3 separate regions of the Homo sapiens genome follow, and regions 2 and 3 are each linked to region 1. Evidence: promoter capture Hi-C in human tissues and cell types (Jung and others, 2019). All regions are on one chromosome and are shown on one strand. The core of a region is centred on a gene start or on the middle of the fragment in contact, and the rest is flanking DNA. Distances in the headings are between cores, read along the strand shown. Region 1 holds the start of MGST1 (microsomal glutathione S-transferase 1). Region 2 has its middle 33 kb from the start of SLC15A5. Region 3 has its middle 34 kb from the start of MGST1.

What was found. Contacts are between HindIII fragments. The study calls those that stand out against the background at their distance.
Region 2: a fragment that was not itself captured here is called in contact with the fragment with the promoter of MGST1 in region 1 in 1 of the 25 tissues and cell types used here (hippocampus).
Region 3: a fragment that was not itself captured here is called in contact with the fragment with the promoter of MGST1 in region 1 in 1 of the 25 tissues and cell types used here (dorsolateral prefrontal cortex).

The regions. Positions count from the first base shown.
Region 1 is chr12:16,345,554-16,349,230 of GRCh38, reverse strand. It overlaps MGST1 (microsomal glutathione S-transferase 1), which reads right to left and starts at 1,586. Exons shown (of 4, transcript NM_020300.5): 1 at 1,521-1,586. RefSeq lists enhancers at 1-636, 1,567-2,496. The HindIII fragment of the contact is 4,760 bases long and covers 1-2,934 here.
Region 2 is chr12:16,308,691-16,312,367 of GRCh38, reverse strand. No RefSeq gene overlaps it. Among named protein-coding and RNA genes, the nearest start is that of SLC15A5, 33 kb to the right of the region's middle. The HindIII fragment of the contact is 6,943 bases long and covers 1-3,677 here.
Region 3 is chr12:16,379,937-16,383,613 of GRCh38, reverse strand. It overlaps a transcript of MGST1 not described here. Among named protein-coding and RNA genes, the nearest start is that of MGST1, 34 kb to the right of the region's middle. RefSeq lists enhancers at 70-662, 663-1,256. The HindIII fragment of the contact is 5,333 bases long and covers 1-3,677 here.

The DNA of each region.
Region 1 (3,677 bases), core at 337-2,836:
CACATGAATAATCTGGGCACGCATCCCCAGGGCCATGACTCTGCAATTTTGTACCTTCTAAAACTAACAAACACTACACATGAGATAAAGAAAAAAGATAATTCGGTGGCCATGTTGCGGATACGTTAATCTGGAACTCTAGATGAATTCTAGCATTTCCTGAAGGCATCGTGGTGGCTGCAGACTCAGCCCACTATGTGGTCTCATGCAAAGTGGGGTTCAGAGCCCAGAGGCTGCAGGTGAAATGCTGGTGCCTCTCGGGAGAGTGGTGGGGTAAGGCCTTTCTCTGTGCTGACCTGACCTCCTTTTCCAATCTCAGGGATTCATAGACACCACTCTAAAACAAAGCGGTAGAAAAATTTTACTCGTCTGCCAGAGAGGGTAATATCCAAATTTGGACTGATTTGCCTTTTTTTTTTTTTTTTTTTTAATTACCAAAGATAATCGCACACATAGCCCTCTTATTTTGGAAACAGCAGAGGACAACAAAGTCCAGTACTATCCTAAGGCCAAGAAAAGCATATGCAAAAGGTAGGTGTAGGCTGGGACTCACAGCAGGCTGGGACCCCAGGAAAACTGGGCTTTAAGGATTGCTCACTGGAGGCCTGGGTGCTATACAGCAATGCTTGCGGGCACCCACTCAGCACTCACTGGGTAAGAAATTAGGGAGAAGAAATAGGGGAATATAAACGTGGAGCTCAGACTGCCACATTTCAAGAGAAGCAGAGAGACTAGAAGATTTACATGCACTCCTCTCTCCTCTGTCCCAAGCCAGCTAGAGCAATATATGACACCTTAATTCCCGAAAAAGAGAGTTCCCTTCTCCTTTTCTCCTTCCACATGGCTTCCTCCTCCAGACTGGGGAAGTGGGGCACAGGTGAGAACCGTCCCAAGGGGCTCACCCTTAGCTCTCTTGTCACTGGCTATAATATCACACAAAAATATTATCATCTAACCCACATCCTCTTGTTTCGATAGCTAGCATTATTAGCAGTAGTATTATTTAGTATTATTTTAAAACTTGCTGATGTTTCTCCTATCAAAGTGAACTCAGAAGAGCAAATCCTGCCTTACAATAGGCATAAAGGCCACTATGCCCATGAAACCTGAGACATCGCAGGCTTTTGCACTCTTGGGGAGAACAGCAGTCGTTCAAACTACAGGCATTTCCTCCATTACTACACGTGCCTTTTCCTCCTTCCCCAGAGTTCAAGGGACCCTTTCAAACAGGAGGTTACTTTGACTTGAAAAGGCTAAGTTTGGAAATCATCACTCAAGCATGAAAAGACTCTCTCGTTTCATTCCTGGAGTTTGAGAAATGGGAAAACTTACCCGCACGGGGACAGAAATACAATTCCCTTTCAAAAGCGATCGATTGAAAAGCTAAGTTTAGCTGCTAAGTGGAGCCAAGCACTTCCAGCTGGCAGAGACCCCCCCAAGTCTTCCATCTGCCACCCACCCTGGCCCTCCCTGCCTGCCACCCTTTGCATGCGGTCCCCTTCTCCCCTCCCAGTACGCACGGTGAGGCCGAGGAGGAGGAAGCAGCAAGCCTGTCCCGCCGCCGGGTCGCGCGCAATGCAGGGACTGTGGCCGCGCGGGCCGGACGCAGGCACCGCCCCTCTCCAGTTAATCTCCTGTTAATTAGCCCTCCCACGTTTAAAGCCCGACCCCAACCTCGCCAAACCCCTCCTCTAAATCACCTGATTTACCCGCCCACAGTAACCATCGCCTGCTGATTCCCTTTGAGCCCTTCTATTTGGCGCCCTTAGAAACTCTGGTTCCTGAAATGCCAACTCCCCTAATCAGTGGGAAGGGGGACAGTAGCCATTGTCTAGGAACTCTGAATTCTCGAACATTTCAGGATCAGCAGAGTTTTGGAAGTTGTTTTTAAAAACTTCGCAGAAAGTTAAAATCTCCAGGGTAGAACTAATTAGCAGGCATTGACAATATTACCTTCCCTTAGACTTCACCTCCCCTGCGCTGGTGGCAAGGCCTCCTTAAAAGGCTGACAATGACAGAATGTAACCCTCAGTAAAGATCACTTACGGTGTTCCAAATTCATGATACCAGACAATTTGCTTTGTCACGATGTCCCCTCCTGTTCAGGGTCCAGAATGAAATTGGAGGCAATTGTACTGGATCAGCTCATTACACAATCAGCTTAGTGTGTTTTTTACAGGGAGGTTTAGAGGAACGTTTACGGAAGCCGTAGATATTTAGCCTACCATCACTATCTAGATTAGGGATACTTCCAAGCTTCCTAGTCCCCATAGTCCCCACAATATTTATGGATCTATCTTTCATGGGTTTATATGAGAAATGTTTAAGGATTTCTGTTTTCAATCTATATTATTTCTCTCCTAGTGCTATATCTCAGACACTCACCACCTGTTGCAAGGTCTACTTCCTTTTTTTGCTCTTAATTTACTCCTTTAGGCTTTAAAGGATATCCCTAGGACTAACTTTCTAGGATGTGATGGACAAGTTCATGTTCTATTAAAGAAAGAAATAACTACCAGTTTGCTCTAGGAACAGAAATTAATCCAAGGAAGGTCTGAGAATGATTTCTATATAAGCATAACAGTAGGAGTTTTGGAAAATCTAGCATCAGAAGGCATCTGTTCTTCACTTTTATGTCTGTATCTTTTCAAAACTCTACTTATTCACCTATCTTTGTAAAGTATACTAGAATCTGTCTGTAACATTAACTGGAATAGGATAGAATTTGAGATGACATAAATCTATTCTGAATTCTCTCCAAAGGAGTTTGGTATTATAAGAATTTAAGACTCTCTTCATTTATTATAAGGTGATACAGGCCAAATCTTATGGATAACATGGCAGAAAAAGGAAGAGGAGAGCTACTGTTTAGATAATTTGGTCTACAGAATGCTAGTTGAATGGTTCTAACATTTTTTTTTTTTTTTTTTTGAGACGGAGTCTGCCTGTGTAGCCCAGGCTGGAGTGCAGTGGCGCGATCTCAGCTCACTGCAAGCTCCGCCTCCCGAGTTCACACCGTTATCCTGCCTCAGCATCCCAAGTAGCTGGGATCACAGGCACCTGCCATCACGCCTGGCTAATTTTTTGTATTTTTAGTAGAGACGGGGTTTCTCTGTGTTAGCCAGGATGGTCTTGATCTCCTGACCTCGTGATCCACCTGCCTCAGCCTCCCAAAGTGTTGGGATTACAGGCGTGAGCCACTGCGTCCAGCTGGTTCTAACATTTTTTTAAAAAAGAAAGTAGCACTTGACTCATCTAATGCTCTAAATATAGAATGTGTTCAAACTATTAATTGATCAATGAATAAATACTGAGTTCCTACTATCACTAAATCACGAACAATTATTGCCTGTTACATACATATATATATGTGTGTGTGTGTTTGTGTGTATCAGGCAATATTATATATATACATACGGATATATATATGACACTGTATTGGGTAGAATATTAGCAGTTGGTTTAATTGAATAAACATTTATTAAATGAATGCAATGTACTTGGTTTGATGCTAAAATCTAAAACTAAGATAAATAACGTCAAAGAGCTGTCCTCCAGGATTTTACAATCTAGTAAACACAAAGGCCAAAAAGGTAAAAAGTTGCCATTAAGCTTGTGGAAGGAAAGTTTCCATTTAGAAATAAGAATGACAGTTGGGGTGTGAACTAGGGCGGTAA
Region 2 (3,677 bases), core at 307-2,806, 37 kb after region 1:
AGTGCTGGCATTGAAAATACTTTATATCCACTAATTGAAACTGTTGAAAAACTGTATATTGAAATCCCCCCAAAAAGCATTTTTTATTATTCACAGTGTTTAAATGAAGCTGTCCATCTCATTACACAATAAATAAGGTTATAGTGGTTTTGCCTACTCACAGCTACTAATACTTTTAGATTTCCTAGCCTCCATTTACATATTAAGAAGACCTCCCCCCCAAACACACACACACACACACACACACACACACACTCTCTCTCTCTCTCTCTGTCTCTCTCTCTCTCTGAACAGAGAGCATGGGAAAAAGAGGAAAGGAGAAAGAGAGATTCTTCAATCAGCCCTCCAGTGGATCACAACTCAGTATCTCTCCTGCATTTCTGCTTTGGATCTTCAAGTATCTCACTATCAACTCCATCAAACACTCAATTTTGTTTATTTTAACTGTAATCGATAGTCTTACATTGTATTAGTTGCTATGAGTATGAGGAGAGGAAAGATCAAAAGTTGATTACAATAAGAATCTCATAATCAGAGGTTAAAAAACATAGATATATGTAAATAATAATAATGTAACACAGAATACACCATAGAGAGAAACCAATTACAATGTATATTCAGCTGAGAAAGAAATCGCATATTGTGGGTGGGAGTCAAGGGGGACCTGGAGGAACTTCATGAAAGAACAGTATTAGAAAAAGGTTTTTAGCAATTAGGAATTTTTTAAAAAGACACAGAGACAATAAAGAAGTCAAACATGATTAAAGTTGAGCATATTTGTGGAGGAGTAAAGAGAGACAAATTTATGTGGTTGAAATATATAAAAATGCTGTTCTTGTAGGTCAAAATTGTATGTTGGGGCTAAATTGTAGATGATCTTGAATGTCAGAAAAAGTCGGGACTTATGCTCTTAAACAACTGTGAGACTTTTGAGAGGACAGCATGTATGTGCCATATTTTAAAGAAGATTCACTTGCTAATTATGAGCTTGGACTGAAAATAAGAAGTGCAATTGGGAAGCTCTTGCAATACTGGGTACCAACTAAGTCCCCAAACCTCTACTAGACTTCATGCCATTGAATGAATATCTCTTTCCTCCATTTACTTCCTGTCCCTTGTACATTTCTATTTATTCAACATCCTTCACCAATTCCTTTGACCTCACTTGCTATCCCTGCCTAATCATCAGGATTCCTATCTCTGCACCTGGATGGGCAAAGCCTAGCTCAACAGGGTCATGGGGTCAGTCAGGCTAAACTTGCAGTAACAGCTATCATGACCTTTATTCCATTTACCATAATATTTGTTTGTATGTCTTGCTCTCTCTCTTTCTTCCTTTGACCACGCTTTTCTGAAGGGCATGTTTAATGCCTCATCTATGTGCTGGGGCCTAGCAGGGCACCTGGCACCTACTAGGTGCTCAATAAATATTAATTCAGTAAAATTCCCACCATAGCAACTCAGAAAAAAAAAAGTGGTTACTTTATTAAAATCTTCTCTGATCTCCTGCTTAACTTCCTGATAGCATGTAGTTAGTGAGCCTGTGGCCTGAGTTTTCTGGGATAGCCCCAGTCTAAGACAGTTTATAATTACCTAAAATAATCTCTATTATGTTGTTTCAAAGAGCCACAAGTAGCACATCTTTTTAATTTTCCTTAGGGCTTGTTATGCACAGTTCATTCTGGACACATAATAAGTGCTCAACAGATAAGTTTATTGATTCAGTAGATAAACATTTCAGAAATTTTAATGACTAATCAACTAAATAAGCACAGGTAAATCACATTTTTCAAATCATGTGTCCAAATTTGGTGGCAAAAACAACTCCTATATTTATAGTTCATGCTAGATAAATGAGTACTTGAGTATATCCTGTTATGCTTCTACTATATTTGAATGTAACCAGTTCTTAAGACCAGTGTAAGTCCTATTTCCAAACCTCTCAACAAATCAGACTCCAAAAACTTCATAAAGAGATATTTTTACTGAGGGTTTCCTGGAAAGACAAGAAAGTTGTTTACCTCACATATTACCAAGTAGGAATTCATTTAAAATTCACTAAATATTTCTCTTTGACTCTGTAGGAGTACTCTAAGATCCACTCCTTAGAGCAACTTCTCTCTCTCTTTTCTGCTCCATGCTCTGCCTTCTCATGCAAAGTTCATCACCATTTTGGCTTTTCTCACTCCATTCTCTGGCCACTTCTAGCCTCCTTGTGAGAAATGGGAAAGTTCTTCTTCAAAGATTACAAAAAGTCACAATTTCTTACTATAACATTGCTATCCACTATTAGTATATATATATATATATATATATATATATATTCCAAATCAGCTGTCCTAGCTTGCTCCAGCATGCCTGGGCAGAACTAGACAAGCCACAGCCCATAGTGCATGCCATTCTTTATTTGCAGATGCTTCCTTAACTATCCCTGGGCAACTTCCTTTTCTTTCTTTGTTCTGTTCCCCTTACCCAATTAAAAAAGTTTTAAACTAATAGCCAATCGGGTAATGTGTAAAATGTGAGGTCCTATTCCAGCCAATGGAAATTGGACAAAACAGTAGGGCAGACGCGTCAGATTATAAATAACTCTGTCTCCTTTGTTTGGTGTGCTCTCATGGCTGGACAGCTATTGAGTAGCACCCTTTCTGCAGAAAGTAAAGCTCGCCTTGCTGAGATCATTTGTTCCCGTGTTAATTTTTTTTTTTTTTGCGACACCAAAAACTTCATTCTCAGCATCCTACTCTTCCATTGGAAACTTACGAACAGCTTTCCCTGTTCTTAAGTAACTTGGCCACTCTCAGTTTATCCAGTATCCCTCTCCAAAACTATTAATAGCTGAAAAGCAAAGGACACTTCCTCCTGAGGTCGGTGGGAGTAAATATAGGAATTTCAAATAAATATTTAATATTTTCCCTGTATTGTCGCCTACCAACAGATTTAATGCTTCTTTTGCATTTTCCTTCAAGCTGCTCATGCACAATCCTGGCCACATATGGGTGCTCAATAAATATGTGTTTACTGACTTCTTAGGAAAATGTTTCAGAAATTTTCATCACTGGTCACCCAGAGTATTTAACAATATTAATCTAACACATAACTCCTGGACCCCTACTATGTGTGACAATGTACTAAGGGAGCTTTGGATGGAATGAGGGTGTGGCCAGAATCCAAAAGAAGTTCTGTCAAATCAGCCTGTGCATGCCACCAACCAAATAAAACTTGAAAATTGATCTGATGAGGTGATCCAAATGTCTCTTCAGACTCATAATTTTCTAAGGCTCATTATACAATTTCACATTAGCGTTTTCAGCTCTTTCGATCACAAAGTAATAGACCAAAAACAAACTAAGAATATAAGCAATATCTAGATCATGGTAGGAAGACTCATCCCCCTCTCAGCTAATTGACTGAACCAGAAAGCCTAATTAGTGCTACAATCACTTCCTACTGGAAAGCATTCACTGTACATTAGAAAAACCTAATGTTAACTAACACTGTACATTAAACCTAGATCATGTTCACTTGCAAGGAAATCATTTTTTTAATAGAAAGGATTCAGTTTTAATGTTCTGTAATGGGCCATTTATTAGTATACAAGAAGGTCAGAAGAACTAATTGGAGACTATTTGAGCAAGTGTAAGTAATATGGTTTTCCCAGGTTGCCAATTGGGATT
Region 3 (3,677 bases), core at 733-3,232, 34 kb before region 1:
GGCACATACCTGTAATCCCAGCTACTCAAGAGGCTGAGGCAGGAGAATCACTTGAATCCGGGAGGCAGAGGTTGCGGTGAGCTGAGATCATGCCATTGCACTCCATCCTGGACAACAAGAACAAAACTCCGTCTCAAAAATAAAAAGAAAAAAGAAAAGAAAAGAAAAAGAAAAAGACTTGGAAAAAAATATATAAATTTTTACCATGTATAAAAATGTAATCACATGGACCAACTGAAAACAACTCAGAAAAACAAAACTCAGACTTACATATAAAACCTTCCTCTGTGGAGTGCAAAATATTTTAAAAGTATTAGCTCAGAGAGAAGCCAAGATGGCCGAATAGGAACAGCTCCGGTCTACAGCTCCCAGCGTGAGTGAGGCAGAAAACGGGTGATTTCTGCATTTCCAACTGAGGTACCAGGTTCATCTCGCTGGGGAGTGCCAGACAGTAGGCGCAGGTCAGTGGGTGCAGTGCACCGTGCACGAGCCAAAGCAAGGCGAGGCATCGCCTCACCCAGGAAGTGCAAGGGGTCAGGGAATTCCCTTTCCTAGTCAAAGAAAGGGGTGAGAGACGGCACCTGGAAAATCAGGTCTCTCCCACTCTAATACTGTGCTTTTCCAATGGGCTTAAAACAAGGCACACCAGGAGATTATATCTCGCACCTGGCTCGGAGGGTCCCATGCCCACGGAGTCTCGCTCATTGCTAGCACAGCAGTCCGAGATCAAACTGCAAGGCAGCAGCGAGGCTGGGGGAGGGGCGCCCACCATTGCTGAGTTAGTTGTTTGATTAGGTAAACAAAGCGGCTGGGAAGCTGGAACTGGGTGGAGCCCACCACAGCTCAAGGAGGCCTGCCTGCCTCTGTAGGCTCCACTTCTGCGGGCAGGGCACAGACAAACAAAAAGACCGCAGTAACCTCTGCAGACTTAAAAGTCCCTGTCTGACAGCTTTGAAGAGAGTAGTGGTTCTCCCAGCACACAGCTTGAGATCTGAGAACGGGCAGACTGCCTCCTCAAGTGGGTCCCTGATCCCCGAATAGCCTAACTGGGAGGCACCCCCCCAGTAGGGGCGGACTGACACCTCACACGGCCGGGTACTCCTCTGAGACAAAACCTCCAGAGGAACGATCAGGCAGCAGCATTTGCGGTTCACCAATACACACTGTTCTACAGCCACTGCTGCTGATACCCAGGCAAACAGGGTCTGGAGTGGACCTCCAGCAAACTCCAACAGACCTGCAGCTGAGGGTCCTGTCTGTTAGAAGGAAAACTAACAAACAGAAAGGACATCCATACCAAAAACCCATCTGTATGTCACCATCATCAAAGACCAAAGGTAGATAAAACCACAAAGATGGGAAAAAAACAGAGCAGAAAAACTAGAAACTCTAAAAATCAGAGCGCCTCTCCTCCTCAAAAGGAATGCAGCTCCTCACCAGCAACGGAACAAAGCGGGACAGAGAATGACTTTGATGAGTTGAGAGAAGAAGGCTTCAGATGATCAAACTACTCCGAGCTACAGGAGGAAATTCGAACCAATGGCAAAGAAGTTAAAAGCTTTGAAAAAAAAATTAGATGAATGGATAACTAGAATAACCAATGCAGAGAAGTACTTAAAGGACCTGATGGAGCTGAAAACCAAGGCACGAGAGCTATGTGAAGAATGCAGAAGCCTCAGTAGCTGATGCGATCAACTGGAAGAAAGGGTATCAGTGATGGAAGATGAAATGAATGAAACGAAGCGAGAAGAGAAGTTTAGAGAAAAAAGAATAAAAAGAAATGAACAAAGCCTCCAAGAAATATGGGACTATGTGAAAAGACCAAATCTACATCTGATTGGTGTACCTGAAAGTGATGGGGAGAATGGAACCAAGGTGGAAAACACTCTGCAGGATATTATCCAGGAGAACTTCCCCAATCTAGCAAGGCAGGCCAACATTCAAATTCAGGAAATACAGAGAATGCCACAAAGATACTCCTCGAGAGCAACCCCAAGACACATAATTGTGAGATTCACCAAAGTTGAAATGAAGGAAAAAATGTTAAGAGCAGCCAGAGAGAAAGGTCGGGTTACCCACAAAGGGAAGCCCATCAGACTAATAGCTGATCTCTCGGCAGAAACTCTACAAGCCAGAAGAGAGTGGGGACCAATATTCAACATTCTTAAAGAAAAGAATTTTCAACCCAGAATTTCATATCCAGCCAAACTAAGCTTCATAAGTGAAAGAGAAATAAAATACTTTACAGACAAGCAAATGCTGAGAGATTTTGTCACCACCAGGCCTGCCCTGAAAGAGCTCCTGAAGGAAGCACTAAATATGGAAAGGAAGAACCGGTACCAGCCACTGCAAAAACATGCCAAATTGTAAAGACTGTCAATGCTAGGAAGAAACTGCATCAACTAACGAGCAAAATAACCAGCTAACATCATAATGACAGGAAAAAATTCACACATAACAATATTAACTTTAAATGTAAATGGGCTAAATGCTCCAATTAAAAGACACAGACCGGCAAATTGGATAAAGAGTCAAGACACATCAGTGTGCTGTATTCAGGTGCATCTCACATGCAGAGACACACATAGGCTCAAAATAAAGGGATGGAGGAAGAGCTACCAAGCGAATGGAAAAGAAAAAAGGCAGGGATTGCAATCCTAGTCTCAGATAAAACAGACTTTAAACCAACAAAGATCAAAAGAGACAAAGAAGGCCACTACATAATGGTAAAGGGATCAATTCAACAAGAAGAGCTAACTATCCTAAATATATATGCACCCAATACAGGAGCACCCAGATTCATAAAGCAAGTCATCAGTGACCTACAAAGAGACTTAGACTCCCACACAATAATAATGGGAGACTTTAACACCCTACTGTCAACATTAGACAGATCAACAAGACAGAAAGTTAACAAGGATACCCAGGAATTGAACTCAGCTCTGCACCAAGCAGACCTAATAGACATCTACAGAACTCTCCACCCCAAATCAACAGAATATACATTCTTTTCAGCACCATACCACACCTACTCCAAAATCGACCACATAGTTGGAAGTAAAGCACCCCTCAGCAAATGTAAAAGAACAGAAATTATAACAAACTGTCTCTCAGACCCCAGTGCAATCAAACTAGAACTCAGGATTAAAAAAACTCACTCAAAACCGCTCAACCACATGGAAACTGAACAACCTGCTCCTGAATGACTACTGGGTAAATAATGAAATGAAGGCAGAAATAAAGATGTTCTTTGAAACCAATGAGAACAAACACACAACATACCAGAATCTCTGGCACACATTCAAAGCAGTGTGTAGAGGGAAATTTATAGCACTAAATGCCCACAAGAGAAAGCAGGAAAGACCTAAAATTGACACCCTAACATCACAATTAAAAGAACTAGAAAAGCAAGAGCAAACACATTCAAAAGCTAGCAGAAGGCAAGAAATAACTAAGATCAGAGCAGAACTGAAGGAAATAGAGACACAAAAAACCCTTCAAAAATTAATGAATCCAGGAGCTGGTTTTTTGAAAAGATCAACAAAATTGATAGACCGCTAGCAAGACTAATAAAGAAGAAAAAAGAATCAAATAGATGCAATAAAAAATGATAAAGGGGATATCACCACCGATCCCACAGAAATACAAACTACCATCAGAGAATACTACAAACACCT